3 separate regions of the Homo sapiens genome follow, and regions 1 and 2 are each linked to region 3. Evidence: promoter capture Hi-C in 16 types of primary human blood cells and fetal thymus (Javierre and others, 2016). All regions are on one chromosome and are shown on one strand. The core of a region is centred on a gene start or on the middle of the fragment in contact, and the rest is flanking DNA. Distances in the headings are between cores, read along the strand shown.

The links. Contacts are between HindIII fragments. The CHiCAGO score rates a contact against its expected background, and 5 or more counts as called.
Region 1: a contact is called between a fragment that was not itself captured here and the fragment with the promoter of RNASEH1 in region 3, in 1 of 17 cell types (neutrophils). The highest score is 5.0, in neutrophils.
Region 2: a contact is called between a fragment that was not itself captured here and the fragment with the promoter of RNASEH1 in region 3, in 3 of 17 cell types (neutrophils, naive CD8 T cells and total CD8 T cells). The highest score is 9.2, in neutrophils.

The regions. Positions count from the first base shown.
Region 1 is chr2:3,350,486-3,353,445 of GRCh38, reverse strand. The region is part of intron 2 of EIPR1 (EARP complex and GARP complex interacting protein 1); the gene reads left to right. Among named protein-coding and RNA genes, the nearest start is that of EIPR1, 26 kb to the left of the region's middle. The HindIII fragment of the contact is 2,211 bases long and covers 329-2,539 here.
Region 2 is chr2:3,391,638-3,394,482 of GRCh38, reverse strand. The region is part of intron 2 of TRAPPC12 (trafficking protein particle complex subunit 12); the gene reads right to left. Among named protein-coding and RNA genes, the nearest start is that of TRAPPC12, 13 kb to the right of the region's middle. The HindIII fragment of the contact is 1,920 bases long and covers 374-2,293 here.
Region 3 is chr2:3,556,783-3,559,720 of GRCh38, reverse strand. It overlaps RNASEH1 (ribonuclease H1), which reads left to right and starts at 1,388. Exons shown (of 8, transcript NM_002936.6): 1 at 1,388-1,588; 2 at 2,817-2,932. The coding sequence starts at 1,461. RNASEH1-DT (RNASEH1 divergent transcript) reads right to left here and starts at 1,335. Exons shown (of 3, transcript NR_038429.1): 1 at 723-1,335; 2 at 1-273. RefSeq lists silencers at 937-1,256, 1,627-1,726 and an enhancer at 1,287-1,536. The HindIII fragment of the contact is 22,605 bases long and covers 1-2,938 here.

The sequences.
Region 1 (2,960 bases), core at 185-2,684, 210 kb after region 3:
GACTCCTAAGAAACATGACAACTTAAGAATCGTTAGATGATTTGGTGGGATGTTAAAATTGTGCTTACAGTATGATCAACGTGGTGTAAAAAAGCAAAGTGCACAATTGAATCTCTTCTTAGAATAAAGACTGGAAGGAAATAGGCCAAAAAGGACTAAAAATTGAGCCAAGGGTTATCTTCAGATGCTTTTCACAGGGGATGTGTTCCAAGACCACCCAGCGGATGCCAGGAAACCTTGGTGAGTACTGAACCCTAAACATATCATGCTTTTTCCTATACTTACATATAGGTAAAGTTTAAGGTATAAGTTAGGCACAACAAAAGCTTAACAACATAACTAATAAAAACACAATGATTATTAGTTATGAAAGTTATATGAATATGGTCTCTGTCTGTCAGAACACCTTACTGTACTATACTCACCCTTCTTCTGGTTTTTGTTTTTTTGAGACAGAGTTTCACTCTGTTGCCCAGGCTAGAGTGCAATGGCACGATCTCAGCTCACTGCAACCTCCGCCTCCCAGGTTGAAGTGATTCTCCTGCCTCAGCCTCCTGAGTGGCTGGGATTACAGGCATGCACCACCACGCCCAGCTAATTTTTGTATTTTTAGTAGAGACGGGGTTTCACCACGTTGGCCAGGCTGGTCTCAAACTCCTGACCTCAGGTTATCTGCTGGCCTCAGCCTCCCAAAGTGTTGGGATTACAGGCGTGAGCCACTGCGCCCAGCCACTCATCCTTTTTCTTGAGAAGATGTGCAATAATATAAGGCCTGTGTGATGAGATGAAGTGAGGGGAATGACATAGGCATTGTGATGTAGCGTTAGGCTATTACTGACCTTCAGAGGATATGTCAACAGCAGGAGTATCTGTTTTGGGTGATCTGGATCATCAAGCCATAAGGTGTTGATGGTTGGATGTCAGGAACAGACAGTGTGGGTGGCTCAGGGGCAGGTAGCTTCTGTAGCATGGATATGCTGATCAAAGGTGTCGGGAACAGACAGTGTGGTTGGCTCAGGGGCAGGTAGCTTCTGTAGCATGGATATGCTGATCAAAGGTGTCGGGAACAGACAGTGTGGATGGCTCAGGGGCAGGTAGCTTCTGTAGCATGGATATGCTGATCAAAGGTGTCCGGAACAGACAGTGTGGGTGGCTCAGGGGCAGGTCGCTTCTGTAGCATGGATATGCTGATCAAAGGTGTCGGGAACAGACAGTATGGATGGCTCAGGGGCAGGTCGCTTCTGTAGCATGGATATGCTGATCAAAGGTGTCCGGAACAGACAGTGTGGGTGGCTCAGGGGCAGGTCGCTTCTGTAGCATGGATATGCTGATCAAAGGTGTCCGGAACAGACAGTGTGGGTGGCTCAGGGGCAGGTCGCTTCTGTAGCATGGATATGCTGATCAAAGGTGTCCGGAACAGACAGTGTGGGTGGCTCAGGGGCAGGTAGCTTCTGTAGCATGGATATGCTGATCAAAGGGATGACTCACGTTTCGGGTGGGATGGAGTGGGATGGCTCCAGACTTCACCACACTACTCAGAATGGTATGTGATTTAGACTTATGAATTGCTTATTTCTGGAATTTTTCATTTAATATTTTTGTGTTACACTTGACCACAGGTAACTGAAACCTGAGAAAGCAAAACCTCAAATTGGGATGAGGTGGGGGCAACATCTATTCAGGATGTAAAATTCTTTTCTTTCTAATGTTTTGTTTTCCGAATGTGTATGTATGTATGTGTGTTACTTTTCTACTGGAAAAAATATAAGAAGGGAATTACTTATTTATAAAAATAGTTACCAGTGGCCACCTGAAAAGGAAGGAGGACCCACCATGAAGATGGCCTGTGGTTTCAGGGATGGTGCCTACAGGGGAGTTGGGGAGTAAAACCCACATGGGAGATAGTGGCACAGAGATAGGATGGGAGGCACGCCAGTCTGCCTTCCAAATGCAGCTTCAGAAAGCAGAAGTCAGCAGAAACCCAGGAATTCAACACAAAATGGGGCCATGGAAAGCATGATAGTTATGAGTAAATTACTGTGTACCTGCTCTTAGCCAGAATGTAGTAATGGCATTTCCATTTGGTAATGACATTAATGAAGAACCATTGGTACCAAAGTTATCAAAATAGAAGAAATAAGAAGAGGCCAGGTGTGGTCGCTCACGCATGTAATCCCAGCACTTCAGGAGGCCAAGGCGGGTGGATCACTTGAGATGAAGAGTTCAAGACCAGCCTGGCCAACATGGTGAAACCCTGTCTCTACTAAAAATACAAAAATTAGCTGGGTGTGGTGGCACGCACCTGTAATCCCAGCTACTTGGAAGGCTGAGGCATGAGAATCACTTGACAACTGGGAAGATGGAGGTTGCAGTGAGCCGAGATCGCACCACTGCACTCCAGGCTGGGTGACAGAGCGAGACTCTGTCTAAAAAAAAAAAAATCGCCCAAAATGACAGAAAGTGTTTTAATCTACCTTAATTTGTTTTTTTTTTTTTTTTTGGAACGAAGTAACATTCAATTAATTATTTTAAAGAAGCTTTCCAGTTTTTCTGTCTCCTTTCTTCTAAATTGAAGAGTTCTGATAATTACTCAGATTAGTTTGCCAGGATCTTATTTTTTTGAGTCAACAGTATGTTTTATTACATACCTCATGTATTTCCACACTTGCCTGCAGTTGTCTGTGTGTGAATCCGTATGGTAGGTATGAAGCTGTGTTTTTGACTTGCTGGTTTTGTCTTTCTGTTTCTGGTAAAGGCATGTGACATTGTTGAGCTGTTCATTCATTCATCCACTCAACAAATGCTTACTTCATAGAATAACAGAACTCTTTAATTCCTCTTTTTTATGTGCTGGGTACACAAAACCTGAACAGATATTCGTGTCCTGAGTTCAGTGTTTAGTGAAATGGTGAAATGGACAAGCAGTTATTCATAGTACTATTAGTATTACCATCTGGTAT
Region 2 (2,845 bases), core at 84-2,583, 170 kb after region 3:
CGTCCGGCTGTTTTTTGTATTTTTAGTAGAGATGGGGTTTCACCGTGTTAGCCAGGGTGGTCTCGATCTCCTGACCTCATGATCCACCCACCTCGGACTCCCAAAGTGCTGGGATTACAGGTGTGAGCCACCATGCCCGGCCCTCCCCTTCTTCTAGTAACAGAACTTTGGTTTTGCCTGAGCACATGGTCGCCTACCTAAAGACTATTTTCAGCCTTCCTTGCATCTTGGTGTGGCCAAGTGACTAAACCCTAGGTAGTGGGATGTGAGTGGACACACTGTCTTCCAGATGACGTATCATAAAAGGAATACTGCAGAGCTCTCCAGCCTCTCCCTCTTCCAGATGGCTGGAAGACAGCAATGGGAAAAAGCTTCCTGGACTTGGTTGAGGAAGGTAGAGTCAATCCACAGTGCTGGCCCACATATCTCCAAAGTGTTCTACCACCTGGAAATAAACATGTATCCTATTCCAGCCACCATACCTTTGGCTTTCTTTGTTAATGCAGCTGAACCTACAGCGTAACTGACAGACTTACCAAAACCTTTCATTTTACAGAGAAGAAAATAGAGCCACAGATGTTCAATGAATTCCCTTAGGTTACACAGGTTATTGGCAAACCAACAATTTGAAACCAATTCTTCTAATTCAAGGCTCTTCCTAAGCTCACATACTGATCAGGGATATGTCTACGTATCAGGCAACTTCTGGGACCCTGGAGAAGACTGAGCTACTCACTCTTTATGGAACACTAAAGTTAAGCCATTTGATTTCCAGTTCTTTTTTTTTTTTTTTAAATGTGGGTAAATAGAAAAGGCATATTTTTAAATTTTAGAATATTTAGTTGACAAATACAAATTATATATATTCAAGGTATATATGATCATTTGTTATAAATAGACATTGTGTACTGAATTCCAAAGTCGAAATAATTAACACAACCGTCACTACCCATAGTTACTGTGTGTGTGTGTATATGTGTGAGGGTGGTGAGGACACTTAAAATCTGCTCTCATCAAATTTCAAGTAAACAACGCAGTATTACTAACTATAGTCACCATGTTAAATGTACATTCCATCCCCAGCATTCCTTCTTCTTGCATAAATGAAGCTCTGTACCCTTTGAGTAACATCTCCCCATGCCCCTCACACCCCCAGGCCCCAGCTTCTATGAGTCTGACTTCTGTAGATTCCACATGTAAATGAGATCACGTGGTATTCATCATTTTGTGTCTGGCTTATTTCACTTAACCTAATGTCCACCAGGTGCATGCATATAGTCACAAATGGCAAGGTTTCCCCTTGTTTTTTAAGGACTAAATAGAATTCCATTGTGTATATTTTCTTTTCTTTAAAAACATTTTTTTTTTTAAAAAGAGACAGGTCTTACTCTGTTATCCATGCTGGAGTGCAGTGGTGCCATCATAGCTCATTGCAGCTTTGAACACCATGGCTCAAGTGAGCCTCCTGCCTCAGCCTCCTGAGAAGTTGGGATTATGGGCGTGAGCCACTACATACCAAATTTTCTCTGTCCTCTCACCTGTCGATAGGCACTTAGGTTGATTCCCTATCTGGGCTACTGTATAATTCTGCAGTGAGCATGGAGCGCAGGCATCTCTCTGAGATCCCGATTTCAATTCCTTTGGATACATACCCAGAATGGGGGACTGTTAGATCATATGGTAGCTCCATTTTTAACTTTTTCGGGCACCTCCATGTTTTCCATAATGGCTGTATTAATTTACATTCCCACCAACAGTGCACAAGGGTCCCTTTCTCCACACCCTCACCAACTCTTGCTGTCTCCAGAGTTTTCGGTTAACAGCCATGATATCTCATTGTGATTTTGATTTGCATTTCCCTGATAATTAGTGCTGTTTCTAGTTCTTTGACTTAAACAGAGATCCTTCTGAGAGAAATACAATTAGTCATTTTCTATGGTAGGGAGAAATACAACATAAGACAAAGAGGCCAGAACTAAGGCAAAGAGGACCTGTGTTCTGGCACTGGCTCTGCAGTGTTGTGGCTGCATTATCTAGGGTAAACACGCCCATGGGACTCTGCCTGGATCTCTACTGAGCCACAGGACACTGAAATTATCCATTTGCAGGTCTGCCTTCCCTTGTCTAGGCCGTCTGTCCTGGTCTGGGCTGGCGGGTAGGCATTACACCTTCCTTTGTGTCAGGAGAGAGGATGCCTGGGACATGGCAGGCTTGCTGGTGAACACACAAGTCATTCGGATCTGTTTCCTCATCATAAAAGGAGAAACTGGACAGGACCAGAGACCTTTAAGCTTTTTTGAGGAACAGGTGTTTTCCATTCCTTGAAAGCTTTGAGCTCGCTGCAAGGTACTGAGTACTCTTAGCCCTACTCACTAAATGTCATATGCTCACCCCAGCCCTTTTGTCAACCAAAGTGAAACACCTCTCCCCCTTTCCAAATGTACCTAAGACCGTTGGACTGCAGCACCCAGTTGGGAAGCAATAGGTTAAGTCTTTCCTGTGGCAACCTTCAGATTTCCTCTGAGTTACAGTCAGAGGGAGAAGCAAACGGCAAGGCAAGCAACAGAGGGTTTGAAAGAAAGTGCTAAAGGCCAGACCCACAGATGTTAAAGGAATTTTACAGCAGAGAGGACAAAGACCCCGAGAGAGAAGGGAAGAAACATGGAGCAGAACATGAAAGCCATCTTGGGGGGACAGGATACAGAGACAAGACCAGGGAGTGGGAGTACAGGTAAGAATTCAGTGACAAATAAATCCAATCCCACACATCCAAATACCCCTGACATCAGAGTCCGGAATTGGTATTCATTAAAAAGATCCTGCAAAGGTTAAATTATGCTCAGTA
Region 3 (2,938 bases), core at 139-2,638:
GTACGCGTCGCTTTTGCCTGGGCCGTTCCTTCTTCCTAGAATGTCCTGCTTCTTTCTCTTTGTCTAACTCATGTGAATGAACTTTTTAAAAAATTAGTATCCTTCAAAACTGTATTTGCTCAGGCGTTCTGATGTGAGGCCCTCCTGACTCTCCAGGTGCGGGTGCTTCTCTGCTCTGTGTCTCTCACCTCCAACAGCTTGTTCTGCCTGCGCACTATTTGCTGATGTGTTATCTCCGGGGATTCTCGAATTTCTCACCTTCATCCCCAAGGCCTGACAAAATACATGGCAGGTGTGCAAAAGGCTTGTTAGAAGACCTTAAGAAAATTAAAGAAAAGTGGTTTAAAAATAATTCGAATAACAATGTTTGCCAATGGAGACTTTTTTTTTTTTTTTGAGACGGAATCACGCTCTGTCGCCCAGATGCAACCTCCACCTCTCGAGTTCGAGCGCCTCTCCTGCTTCAGCCTCCTGAGTAGCTGGGATTACAGGCGCAGGCGACCACGCCCGGCTAATTTTTGTATTTTTAGTAGAGACAGGGTTTCATCATATTGGCCAGGATGGTCTCGATCTCCTGACCTGGTGATCCACCCGCCTTGGCCTCCCAAAGTGCTGAGATTACAGGCGTAAGCCACCACGCCCCTCCAACCCATGAACACTTTTAAAATTACTTGATTTGCTTACAGAGCAAAAGGTCAAATGGGGAGAATTCTAAAAGTTACCTTCTCAACTCAGTTTTCTCCCGGGTCGTGGTGCTTGAGGCACTGGATATCCCCTGGTTAAACACCCACGTGCAGTGGAGCAGGGAGGGGACGCGCCCCTTCGGGGGTGGGCGCCCAAGGCAAGGGGAGGAATGCGGCTTCCACGGCCTCCCCTCTCGCCCTCCTTTGTGCTTATTCTAATTCATGAATTCTAACATCTTTCTGCCCACTAAAAAATGTGCATTCATTCATCTGGCCACAGCCCTTACTGTAGATCCGCATCCCTGGAGCTCTCGAGGAGCCGCGGTTACCGCACGTGGGTGCCGGGCGCCAGGGGGTTCAAGGGCTTCCCGCGGTGACCCGAGCACGCCGGGGCGTGGCCCCCGAACTGCGGCCTGGGGGCGGGGAGAGAAGGGGCCCAACATGGTCCATCTCGACCTTCCTCTGCCGGGCCCAGGGCTTCAGCCCCGCTCCCATAGGCCCCGCCCCATCCCAGACCTCGCCCGCCTTCGGGATCTCAGCCCTGGCTCCGCTTCTTCAAGTACCGACAGGAAGTTGACGAGTTCGGGCTCGTCAGGGGCCGAGCTCCGGGCTCCGCCCTACGACACCGCCCCTCCCTAGGCCCCGGCCCTCATCAGGACTCCGCCCAGACGTGCGTCATCTTCCCGCGCCGGTGACGGAAGTGCGGTGTTGAGCGCCGGCGGCTCGCGCCCACGCTGGGCCGGGAGTCGAAATGCTTCCCGGTGCCGGGAGTGAGCGATGAGCTGGCTTCTGTTCCTGGCCCACAGAGTCGCCTTGGCCGCCTTGCCCTGCCGCCGCGGCTCTCGCGGGTTCGGGATGTTCTATGCCGTGAGGAGGGGCCGCAAGACCGGGGTCTTTCTGACCTGGTGAGTGGCCCGCCCGCCGAGGCGCCTCCCTGCCGGCATCGGGGTCGAGGGAGGCCGGAGCCCGGCTAACCCCGGCGGCGGGAGCCTGGCGGTCCGAGTCTGTGCCGCGCGCTGTGGCTGTGGGTGGTCGGGGGACCGCCTCGTTTTCCTGCTCGGCCGGCGGGGTTCCAGGAGGCTCATGGCCTGGGACTGGAACGCACCGAAGACTTGTTTGAAATATCAGAAACGTCGCGTAAAGGTTAGGGGTGGCCTAATAAACCCTGTGTTTAATCCTCCATCTTTGTTGCAGTTAAAGTGCAACAAAAAGTGACACGTAATCAGAACGAACCCCCGTTACCAGAAGACTTTCCGTACCAGCTAAATTGGGATTGGAACTCAGTACCTAATCTTCCCTTTTAAAAAAGGCAAATTCTAATAAGCCAGTATTTGCAGTTGGATCCTTGTAACAACCCTTGGAGGTGAGAGGGATTATTCTCACTTTCAGGTATAGTTCTTGGGGTCAGGAAGTTCCCAGGGCATGTAACTGACAGAGAAAGGACTTGAGCCCAGCTGTTCTGACTGTACCACCAGAACTCTTCCCACTACAAGATACCAAAGTTCGTTACCTGTGTTTCCCCATGCACGGCAGCTACAGTATTGAGGAAGAAGCATCTCAGAAGTTGACCTTTTTGTTGTAAAGAAATGGTTAATATTTTTTTCAAAGACCGCAGTATTTTGTTATGCTTTGAGTTTGACGAAAGCCTTATGGTGCTGGTGTGCTGGCTGGCTGGCATACAGTAGAACACAGGTGTAGAGTCTGACGTGCAGGATAAAACTATAAGGTGCGACTCTGCCCTTTTCACGCAAAAATTGGTCCTCTATATCCAGTTTGCATCCTCAGTTTCAGCTAACCATAGATCAAAAATATTTGGAAAAAATTAAAATAGAATACAGTTTTAAAATACGCATAAAAAGACAATACAACTATATAGATTGTATTAGGTATTATAAACTAGAGATGATTTAAAGCATGCAAGAAGATGTGTGTGGGTTATTTGCAAATACACCATTTTATGCAAAGGACTTAAGCATCCTCTGATGTTGGTATCTGTGATGGGGTGGAGGACTTCCTGGAATCAGTCTCCCTCAGATACCAAGGGACAACTGTATTTCCAACCTTAAGAATCTCAATAAAAAAGGGGATAAGTTAGAGAAGGAAGAAGGAAATAACATTGCACATCTTTTCCAGGAATGAGTGCAGAGCACAGGTGGACCGGTTTCCTGCTGCCAGATTTAAGAAGTTTGCCACAGAGGATGAGGCCTGGGCCTTTGTCAGGAAATCTGCAAGCCCGGAAGTTTCAGAAGGTAGTC